Linked DNA regions of Homo sapiens: all the other regions are linked to region 2. The links are contacts of gene promoters, found by promoter capture Hi-C in human tissues and cell types (Jung and others, 2019). All regions are on one chromosome and are shown on one strand. Each heading gives the region's core, a stretch centred on a gene start or on the middle of the fragment in contact. The rest is flanking DNA. Distances are from core to core; before and after follow the strand shown. Region 1 has its middle 5.2 kb from the start of DEFB128. Region 2 holds the start of SOX12 (SRY-box transcription factor 12). Region 3 overlaps CSNK2A1 (casein kinase 2 alpha 1).

The links. The method cuts DNA at HindIII sites, captures the fragments that hold promoters and counts their contacts. A contact is called where the count stands out against the background at its distance.
Region 1: a contact is called between a fragment that was not itself captured here and the fragment with the promoter of SOX12 in region 2, in 1 of the 25 tissues and cell types used here (lymphoblastoid cells).
Region 3: a fragment that was not itself captured here is called in contact with the fragment with the promoter of SOX12 in region 2 in 2 of the 25 tissues and cell types used here (pancreas and spleen).

The regions. Positions count from the first base shown.
Region 1 is chr20:193,270-196,487 of GRCh38, forward strand. No RefSeq gene overlaps it. Among named protein-coding and RNA genes, the nearest start is that of DEFB128, 5.2 kb to the left of the region's middle. The HindIII fragment of the contact is 6,858 bases long and covers 1-3,218 here.
Region 2 is chr20:324,157-327,774 of GRCh38, forward strand. SOX12 (SRY-box transcription factor 12) reads left to right here and starts at 1,396. Exons shown (of 1, transcript NM_006943.4): 1 at 1,396-3,618. The coding sequence starts at 1,769. The coding sequence ends at 2,716. It overlaps NRSN2-AS1 (NRSN2 antisense RNA 1), which reads right to left and starts at 1,096. Exons shown (of 3, transcript NR_109990.1): 1 at 986-1,096. RefSeq lists silencers at 266-525, 1,086-1,395, 1,506-1,885, 1,956-2,015, 2,036-2,525 and 2 more. The HindIII fragment of the contact is 5,512 bases long and covers 70-3,618 here.
Region 3 is chr20:516,633-520,078 of GRCh38, forward strand. All of the region lies in intron 2 of CSNK2A1 (casein kinase 2 alpha 1), which reads right to left. Among named protein-coding and RNA genes, the nearest start is that of CSNK2A1, 25 kb to the right of the region's middle. The HindIII fragment of the contact is 4,623 bases long and covers 1-3,446 here.

The DNA of each region.
Region 1 (3,218 bases), core at 253-2,752, 130 kb before region 2:
AGGTGGGTATGGAGCGACAATGGCCTCATTGATAATCCTGAGATCTTGCACTAACCTCCACTGTCCGCTGAGTTTCTGTACTCCTAAAATTGGAGTATTGCAGGGGCTATTGCATGGTTTTACTAGGCCTTGGGCTTTTAGGTCCTTAAAAATATTTTAGAGTCCTTGTTGGGCCTTGGGTGTAAGGGGGTACTGCCTTTGGTAGGGAAAGGAGGTGAAATCCTTTAGTTTAACTCAAACAGAATGGGCATTCTTTGCTCGTCCATGTTGTCCTTCTGTTGCCCAGACTTCAGGATTAATTCCTTCCTCAAGCAGGGGGACAATAAACGGGTGTTCTTTCTCCTATGTTCAGGTGTATAATGGCCCCTGCTTTCGCTAGAATGTCTCTCCCTAACAAGGGAGTGGGGCTTTCAGGCATAATTAGAAAAGCATGTGAAAAGTATAAAGTTCCCCAGTCACAACTTAGTGGCTGGGAGAAGTATCTAGTGACTGGCTGTCCTAGGACCCCTTGGATAGTGACAGATCTGGAGGACAGTTGTCCGGGACAGGACAGTAAGACTGAGAAGGCTGCGCCAGTGTCCAGGAGACAGTTAGCCTCCTGGCTCTCAATGGTCAAGCATACCCGGGACTCTGTGAGGGTGATGGCATGGGCTGGAGCTTGCCCTGGGCACCCTCAGTCCTTCTGCTGGATCATCTGGTTAGTGGCTTCTGACTCAGAGGACCTTCGTCCCCTGGGGCAGTGGGCCTTCCAGTGATTCCCTTGACATAAGGGGCATGGATGAGAGGGTGGCTTATTTCTACTTGGACAATCTTTTTTAAAGTGTCCTTGTAGACCGCACTGGAAGCAAGCCCTATTAGGCATTCGATTTGCCCAGTTTTTCCCTTTTCCAAAGCCTCCTCGACTAGGAGTTCTTAACTCATAGCACAAAATTCATGCTATATGCTCAATACATAATCACTGAATGGCTGAAAAGTACTGAACAAATTACTGCTAGATAAAATACTCCAACACAGCAATAAAGTTAATTATGGCATTTCCTTTAAAAATGCTGTTTACCACTTTTTGCAATTTCTAGGCACCTAATTATAGTAATGAGGTCCCATCTAATCCAAATATCTTTCTGTGACAGTATCTGGAAGAATGTTGGAATTTCTGAAAGCTGTAGAAGTAGCCGTTGATGATTAAACTCTTATCACAACATAGTCAGGGAAAGAGTAAGGTTAGGAATTAGTATTGTATATAGCTTACTATGGATACCAGTAACCAGAGCCCTTATCCCCCTCAGTTAGTAGCTGTATACCTTGTAATCCTGGAGTGGCACAGAAAATAAAGATTGGTGAGGCTTACAGAATCTCATCAAATCATATTTATCATATGAAGACAGCTAAGTTAATGGGTGCAGGAAATTTAGCCGCACGAAGATCAGATGTGTGAATATTTATTAAGGGCTAGGTGCAGTGGCTGGGATTACAGGCGTGCACCATCATGCCCAGCTAATTTTTGTATTTTTAGTAGAGATGGGGTTTCACCACGTTGGCCAGTCTGGTCTTGAACTCCTGACCTCAGGAGATCCACCCACCTCAACCTCCCAAAGTGCTGGGATTACAGGCATGAGCCACCACGCCTGGCTTGTTTTTTTGTTTTTGTTTTTGTTTTAATTTTCTAAGTCTTTCTTGCTGAGGGTCTGTGGATCAAGGAAATACTTATTCAAAAAACAGGTATTAAGTTCCTGTTAATAAATACAAGAAGAAAAGTGCTAACTGAATCACCTGTGGGTTTAAAGACCACCATCAAAGCTACAATTTTGGAGGACAGCCAACTGCTCCCTTGTTCTGTAATTCAATTTTACTCATTGCTGTAAGGGAGTTGGTTCCATTTCTAAATAAATTAAACAGAGATAACCCAAGGATTAGATGAATATAAGTCCAGCTATGCAGGAAATCGTTTGCCACCTTAGTGCACAATAAGAACTAAGAAGTTGGACTCCAGATTAGTGTATGGGATTTCTTTTAGCTTTTTCTAACTAGAATCAAGAAAGATGAGATATTTGACTGTTCTAAACCTTTACTTCAGCCAAGTATGGTGCTCTGGAAGCTTCTCAACCCCACTCCCACTGCCTCCATGTTCAAGACCATCAAATAAGAGGGAATTTCCTCTCCAAGTAGATGTCCATCTTCTACAACATTTTTTCCTACGTCTGATAGATACACTCTAGCAGAACTCCAGTAGCATATTTCACCCAGGATACAAAGGTGTATTTGTCAGCACCAGTCCTGCTGATGTTTTTCCTCAAATTCTGCATTGTTTCTTTCCAAATCTCAAAACCTCCCAGAAAATCCTTCTTGTCTTTTAAGGCTCAGATAAAAATAAGACCTCCTCTGTGATGTCTTCCTAACTCCTCTGATAGACTTGATTAATTACTATTTTGAACCCCCACAGCTCTTTCCATTTGTATTTGTAACACTAATCCCATTCGTGTGTGTGTGTGTGTGTGTGTGTGTGTGTGTGTGTGTCTGTGTATGAATTTTTTTAGCTTTTATTTTAGGTTCAGGAGAACATGTGCAGGTTAGTCACATAGGTAAATTGTATGTCACAGGGATTTGGTGTACAGGTTATTTCATCACCCAGGTAATAAGCATAGTACCTGATAGGTAGTTTGTTGATTCCCACCCTCCTCCTACCTCAAGTAGGCCCCGGTGTTTGTTTCCTTTTTTGTGTCCAGGTGGACTCAATGTTTAGCTCCCATTATAAGTGAGAACACGTGGTATTTGGTTTTCTGTTCCTGTGTTAACTCACTTGGGATACAGGCCTCCAGCTCCATCCATGTCCCTGCAAAAAACATGATTTCATTTTTTATGGCTGTGTAGTATTCGATGGTGTATATGTACCATATTTTATTTATCCAGTGTACCATTGATGGGCATTTAGGTTGATTCCGTGTCTTTGCCATTGTGAATAGTGCTGCAATGAACATACACGTGCATGTGTCTTTATGGTGGAATGATTTATATTCCTTTGGCTATATACCCAATAATGGAATTGCTGGGTCGTATGGTAATTCTGTTTTAAGTTCTTTGAGAAATTGCCAAACTGTTTTCCACAATGGCTGAACTAATTTACACTCCCACCAGCAGTCTAAAAGCATTCCCTTTTCTCCACAACCTCGCCAGCATCTGTTATTTTTTCACTTTTTAATAATAGCTATTCTGACTGGTGT
Region 2 (3,618 bases), core at 146-2,645:
TTTCTTTCTCCCCACCACCCCCACCCCGCCCCCCGCGCCGCGGAGCCGCACCTCGGTCCTTCCTCCCCGCCCCACACCCTCAAGCTCGGCTCTTGGCCTTCGCTCGTCCAGAAGTGGGTGAGCTGTACCGCCAGAGGCGCATTCTCCTAGCCCCAAACCATGCCCGCTACGCCCCAGCGGAATGCCACCTTAAAGACCCTAATCCGGGCACCTCCCAGCTCCTGCTTCCCAAGGGCGAGGCCTCAGCGCCCCCTCCCATCGCCCATGCTCACGACGCCGTGAAGGTGACCTCCCCCAGGGGCGGCACACGCCCAGTGGTGCCCGAACTGGCTCACACGTGGTGAGCCGGGAGCGCGCGGCCCCTCCCCGCCACGCGCCTCGTGCCGGCCACCCGGCCACGCCCCCAGGACTGGCTCCGCCCCGTGCCCCTGCACGCTTCTCCAGGCTTGGGTGGGGCGACGCGCCCAAGTCGGGCACCGGGCAGGCTACGGGGTGGGGTAGGACCTGGGAATGGCGCACCCACGCATCCTCGAATGTCGCCTGCGGTTTGTGAAAAGCGGGAAGTCCGCCCAGCTCAGGACCTTTGGCTGGCAGGCGAGGTGCCCCGCGGCCCTTGGTGCTGAGCAGGGGAGAGACAGCTGGGACCGCGAGCCTGGGAATCGAATCCTAGTCTGCGTGTCCTCGGTGCTTCCTATTTGGAAACTGGGCATCATATTATCATATTCCCTTCTCCCTCCGGATTCTTATGGAGCTTCGAACGAGATTAAATATACATATATATGAGAAAGGGATTTGTTCACTAGGTCCAAAAGCATTTGCTGGTCCCATATGTGGTCGGACCCTGTGTGTAGTAGGCGGGGGGCAACATCTACGACAACCTGAGTTCGTCCCCTTAAGAAGCTTTCCTGAGTCTTGGGCCCCCCAAATTCTCTTCTGGGATGGTCCGAAAAGACGTCCCTGAAAGAGGAAAGGGCGGAAATCCTACCTGACGGCAGGTGTCTCGGAATGAGCTAAAATTTAAAAGGCAACGCGGGGCAGGGACAAGCGTCCAGCGTCAGATGGAAGCAGGCTCGCGTCCCCTACCCTTCCTCCAACCCCTAACCTAAGAAAAGAAACCGATCTCGCCGGTCTCCCCCAATCCTAGCCGCGAGACCGCCCAGCCCCGCAGCCCGAGCCCCGCCCCGCTCCGGCGGCCAGCGATTGGGAGATGCAAATACCGGCTTCTCTGCCCAGCAACGGGTGACGCGGCGCCCGAGCGCGAGGCGGGGCCCGGCCGCAGCCCAAGCGGGCACCTCGGTGTTTACACGGGGCGGCCCCGCGCGCGCCGCAGCGGCCCGCAGACGGCGAGGGGGAGGGGTGGTGCGCGCGCCGGCGGGGCCGCGCGGGGAGAAAGACACTGAAAGGCGTCGGCGGCCGGGCGGGGAGCGGCGCGCGCGGGCCGCGGCGGAGCCAGAGGCTGCAGGAAGAGCCCGCGGGGGCCCGGAGGGTGCGATTCCTCGGCCCCCGCAAAACAATGTGTGTTGTGAGCCAGGACGCAACTTGCCGGAGGCGGCGGGGGCGCGCCGAGCCCGCCTGAGACCGCGCTGACCTTCTCCCCCCGCCGTCCGTTGGGCCCGAGCGCCCAGCTCCTCGCTCCCCAGTTCGCGGGGGCCGGGCCGAGCCGCGGGGCGGGGCCGCCCCTCCGTCGCCGCTGCCTCCTCCCCCACCCCCAGCCGCGGAGGATGCGGACGGCCCCCGGCGGCGTCTAGCGGCCCCGGGCCCAGGCGCGATGGTGCAGCAGCGGGGCGCGAGGGCCAAGCGGGACGGCGGGCCGCCGCCCCCGGGACCCGGGCCGGCCGAGGAGGGGGCGCGCGAGCCCGGCTGGTGCAAGACCCCGAGCGGCCACATCAAGAGGCCGATGAACGCATTCATGGTGTGGTCGCAGCACGAACGGCGGAAGATCATGGACCAGTGGCCCGACATGCACAACGCCGAGATCTCCAAGCGCCTGGGCCGCCGCTGGCAGCTGCTGCAGGACTCGGAGAAGATCCCGTTCGTGCGGGAGGCGGAGCGGCTGCGGCTCAAGCACATGGCGGATTACCCGGACTACAAGTACCGGCCGCGCAAAAAGAGCAAGGGGGCGCCCGCCAAGGCGCGGCCCCGCCCCCCCGGTGGTAGCGGTGGCGGCAGCCGGCTCAAGCCCGGGCCGCAGCTGCCTGGCCGCGGGGGCCGCCGAGCAGCGGGAGGGCCTTTGGGGGGCGGGGCGGCGGCGCCCGAGGACGACGATGAAGACGACGACGAGGAGCTGCTGGAAGTGCGCCTGGTCGAGACCCCGGGGCGGGAGCTGTGGAGGATGGTCCCGGCGGGACGGGCCGCTCGGGGACAAGCGGAGCGCGCCCAAGGGCCGTCGGGCGAGGGGGCGGCCGCCGCCGCCGCCGCCTCCCCGACACCGTCGGAGGACGAGGAGCCGGAGGAAGAGGAGGAGGAGGCGGCAGCGGCTGAGGAAGGTGAAGAGGAGACGGTGGCGTCGGGGGAGGAGTCGCTGGGCTTTCTGTCCAGGCTGCCCCCTGGCCCGGCCGGCCTGGACTGCAGCGCCCTGGATCGCGACCCGGACCTGCAGCCTCCCTCGGGCACGTCGCACTTCGAGTTCCCGGACTACTGCACCCCCGAGGTTACCGAGATGATCGCGGGGGACTGGCGCCCGTCTAGCATCGCAGACCTGGTTTTCACCTACTGAGCCCACCGTCAGCGGGGCGCGCACGCCCCCAAACCAGCTGTTTACATACAGGAATCAGGTATTGGGGCCCCTCGGAGGCCGAGGCTGGCACCCCATCTCCCGCGCAGCCTGCCCCCTCCTGGACGTGCCCATCCCCCCTCAGATCCAGACATGCCCCTCCCCCGCAGACACACCCCAAGGCAGCCCAACCCCCACCCCTTCCCCGACACCCAAGCCCCTCCCCACGTCGCCCCCTCCTGCACAGCCACCAGCAGCCAGCCCCCTCCGATACACCTCCCGTCCTCTCCTACAGACCTGCACCCCTCCCCCCTTTTGCACACGCCCCTCCTCGTGGCCGGAGGACCCGCCCCCTCCTTTGCTCCGGAATCTCTCCTCCCTCGCCCGGCCCGCCTTCTCTGGGTTAGGGGGGCGATGCGGCCGGGTGGCAACGCACGCGCCTCCTGCGCCCCTCCCTTCCCTGGGGGGAGGGGCGCACCCCTTTTATCCCCGGAGCGCTAGGGCCCGCCCCTCCGCTGGGGCCCACCCCCTTCGTGCGCATGCTTAATGCTTCTGGGGAGGAGGGGGCTGGTCCCAGCGGAGCCGCACTCTTCGCCCGCTCCGGGCAAAAGCGGGGGCGAGTGTAGAGCGATCCTGGGAAATCCTTTGATCCGGGAGCCCTAGGTTTCCTCTCCAGCCAACGGGGCGTCGCTGCCTTAATGGGAGGAGCACTCGGAAGGGTTGGTTTGGGCCTGAAACTCTCCCAAGTGGCATAGCCCCTTTTCCGGTATGGGGTCTCCTACACCCACGCGCACCACCTCTCCGGTCGCGTGGCTGCCTCTACAGCCTACCTATACGTCCCTTTTTCCCCCCAACTGGGAATTGAGAGGTAAGGTCTTTCTCTGGAAATCCAGCAGTAGAGGAAG
Region 3 (3,446 bases), core at 287-2,786, 190 kb after region 2:
TTCAATTTGGCAACTAAAAAGAAAACTAGAGGCTTAGTAACAGTCCAATACCAGAAAACTATACAAACAAGTTTGCTTAGTCATTTCTGCTAATGTATTTTTATTGATGAATTTCCTAGTATCAGAAATGGAAAAGATCATTCTAGAACTTTAAGTCAATTTTTGAACTGTAATATAATTAGTTCTTTTTAACCCTAATGTTTATTAGTCTCCATCTTAAAAGGAAAAAAAAAATCTCCTTCTCATCCCTAAATGAACCATAGCAAATGAACAAGATCTCATCATCATCCCGACAGGACAAAGATTTCTATAGCAAAGAATGAGGAATGTGCTTAGATTGCACTGACTGCATGGTTTAGGACTGCTTGTTTAGAGGAAAAGCAGCTATACAGGAAGACACCTTTTATGCACTGCTGCAGAGAATGAACTCTTTTTCCAAGCAATCAGGCAACATAAACTGGTAAGAGACAAACAAGACTTGTGGAACTCAGCGAGACCTTAAATATGTATACTTTTCTACCTTGCTACAGAAGCAAAGAGAAAAATTCAGTCAAACTTGCCCATTTCCCTTTACAAAAGGGGCACTGATTAGAAGGCCAACTTAATACAAAAAAGCACAAGTAGCTAATGTTACCTGAATTACTTATTTCAAATGTCCATACTTAACCTTAATTTCTTTCTTCCTTTCCAATCAAGAGCAGAATGCTCATACATCAAGCATTTACTGAACGTTTACTATGTACCAGGAAATGTGTGCCTGACTGCCAGAAAGGCATTCTTTCTCTTGGTCCTGGAGAAAGTATCTCTGCCCTCAGACAAAGAAAACAGACCATTACAATCTCAAGTGATCAGTGCTTGAAACAATTAAGTCATGGTGGTGTACAGACGTTGAAGGGTATTTAAACTATCACCAACCCATCATTCATTCAACAAATATTTATGGAGTACCTAAAATGGGGAAAAACTGTAAGAGAAAAAAAAAACTGCACTTAAAGTACGCACAGGAATTATTCAGATGGAAAACATTAAAACAAGAAATTGCAAAGCGTAACACTTTAAAGCAAGTTAAGAATTTTAAAGACCTATAATTTTGCACCCTAAAATGACCAAAGGCTGGCACATTTTGTTATCTTCTATAAGAAACACATCATTGGATGCCACATGCAACGTGGCATCAGGTGTAAAAAAGCACCTGATGTGCTTTTTTTGCACATCAGGTCAGCAACCTTTTTATATCTGATTTGGAGACTATTAGTTTACTCGACTGTTACCATTTTGTGCTTAAAACAAACAGTATCATTAATTCACAAGCTTTGGAATTCTTTCTCTTTATTTTCTTTTCTCTACTTCCAACACTAATCAGTTCCTTGTTGCCCAAGCTGGAGTGCAGTGGCACAATCGTAGCTCACTGCCACTTCAAATTCCTGGGCTCAAGTAATCCTCCCACCTCAGCCTCCCAAGTAACTGAGGCTACAGGCATGTGTCACCACACCTGGCCCACTCATCTTTAAATAAGACAGAGAAGTAATTATAGCCAAAAGGGAATAGAAAATGCAAACCCAGAGATATAAGCAAGCAAGGAAGCCTGGAAAGCCTTTGTTGATCCTGAAAATTAGAATTTTGTTCTCACATAAACCAAAGCCCAGGGCTCTCACAAGACAAAAAGTCTAATAGGAGGCCCTCTTCATAAGGTGGGACTTCAGAGGCATACTTCCTAATGGTGAGAGTGACTAGGGAGTGGAAGATCCAGGGAGGAATTAAAGCCCTACTGAAGGGAATATCATATCTTAAGCTTGTTTTAAGGTGGTCTCTGGATTAGTGCCCATGCATACCTGATATAAGCAAGCTCTCCATGGAGGAAAGTACCTTACTGTGGGCCTCAAATGATCACTACAAATATCTATTTTTATTTTTATTATTTTTTATTTTTTTGAGACAGAGTCTCGCTCTGTCACCCAGGCTGGAGTACAGTGGCCTGATCTCAGCTCACTGCAAGCTCTGCTTCCTGGGTTCACGCCATTCTCCTGCCTCAGCCTCCCGAGTAGCTGGGACTACAGGAGTCCGCCACCACGCCCGGCTAATTTTTTTTTTTTTTTTTTTTTTAAGTAAAGACGGGGTTTCACCGTGTTAGCCAGGACGGTCTCGATCTCCTGACCTCGTGATCCACCCGCCTTGGCCTCCCAAAGTGCTGGGATTACAGGTGTGAGCCACCGCACCCAGCCAATTATTTATTTTTAAATACAATGTCCTAGCAGATCTCAAAAAACAAGAGGAAAAATATAGTGAAATCGTTGGATATACTTTTTTTTTTTTTTTTTTTTGCCACAAAGTCTTGTTCTGCCACCCAGGTTAGAGTGCAGTGGCACGATCTCAGTTCATTGCAACCTCTGCCTCCCAGGTTCAAGTGATTCTCCTGCCTCAGCCTCCAGAGTAGCTGGGACTACAGGTGCATGCCACCATGCCCGGCTAATTTTTGTATTTTTAGTAGTGAGGGGGTTTTGCCATGTTTTGGCCAGGCTGGTCTTGAACTTCTGACCTCAAGTGACCCGCCCATCTTGGCCTCCCAAAGTGCTGTGATTATAGGCGTAAGCCACCGTGCCCAGCCAGTTTGATATACTTTTAATTGGTACTAGCAGAAAAGAGAATGGGATAAAGGCAGTAACTGAAGACAGTTGAAAATATCCCAGAAGCAATCAGACACAATCAAATTCCAGAAGCAAACAATTTCCAAACAAGATCAATAAAAAGAAATCCAAAACCAAACATATAATTACAAAATAGCAGGAAAAAACAAAGATGAGTTGGGTGTAATGGCACAGGCCTATAGTCCCAGCTATTTGGGAGGCTGATACAGGAAGATTGCTTGTGCCCAGGAGTTGGAGGCCAGCCTGGGCAAAACAGCAAGACCTTGTCTCAAACAAAAACAAAAAACTAAAGACAAGCAAGTACAGAAAAAGGCAGATTATATTCAAAGAGCAACATTAGAACAGCTGATTTTTCAAAACCAACAATGAAGCCAAGTAGTTTAATACCTGCAGTGTGCTGAAAAAAATAAATAGCCGCCAAATTAAAATTCTGTTATCAAGCAAATGTCTCTAAAGAAAAAAGAAAAATAATCCCATTTTGGAAGGTCTGAGTTGAAAGAAAAAATAAAGAGCAAAAAAGAGGAAAATTTACAGACAGCTCCAAACAAACACTGATTATACAAAAGAATAACAATACCTTGAGGAGCTTTAAAACATAGAATACATAACAATAAAAACACAGTGTATTGAGGAGATTTCAAAGTATTCTTTCTAAAGGTCTTTTATTATATGAAAAGAAGATAAAATTATAATATCAGGTTTTGCTAAGTTATAGCTGCAAGTCACAAGATGTATGACAACTAATTACAGAATAAAAATAGCATATATTTCCAAACCAGAAAGAGGGAAAAGTAAAATCAT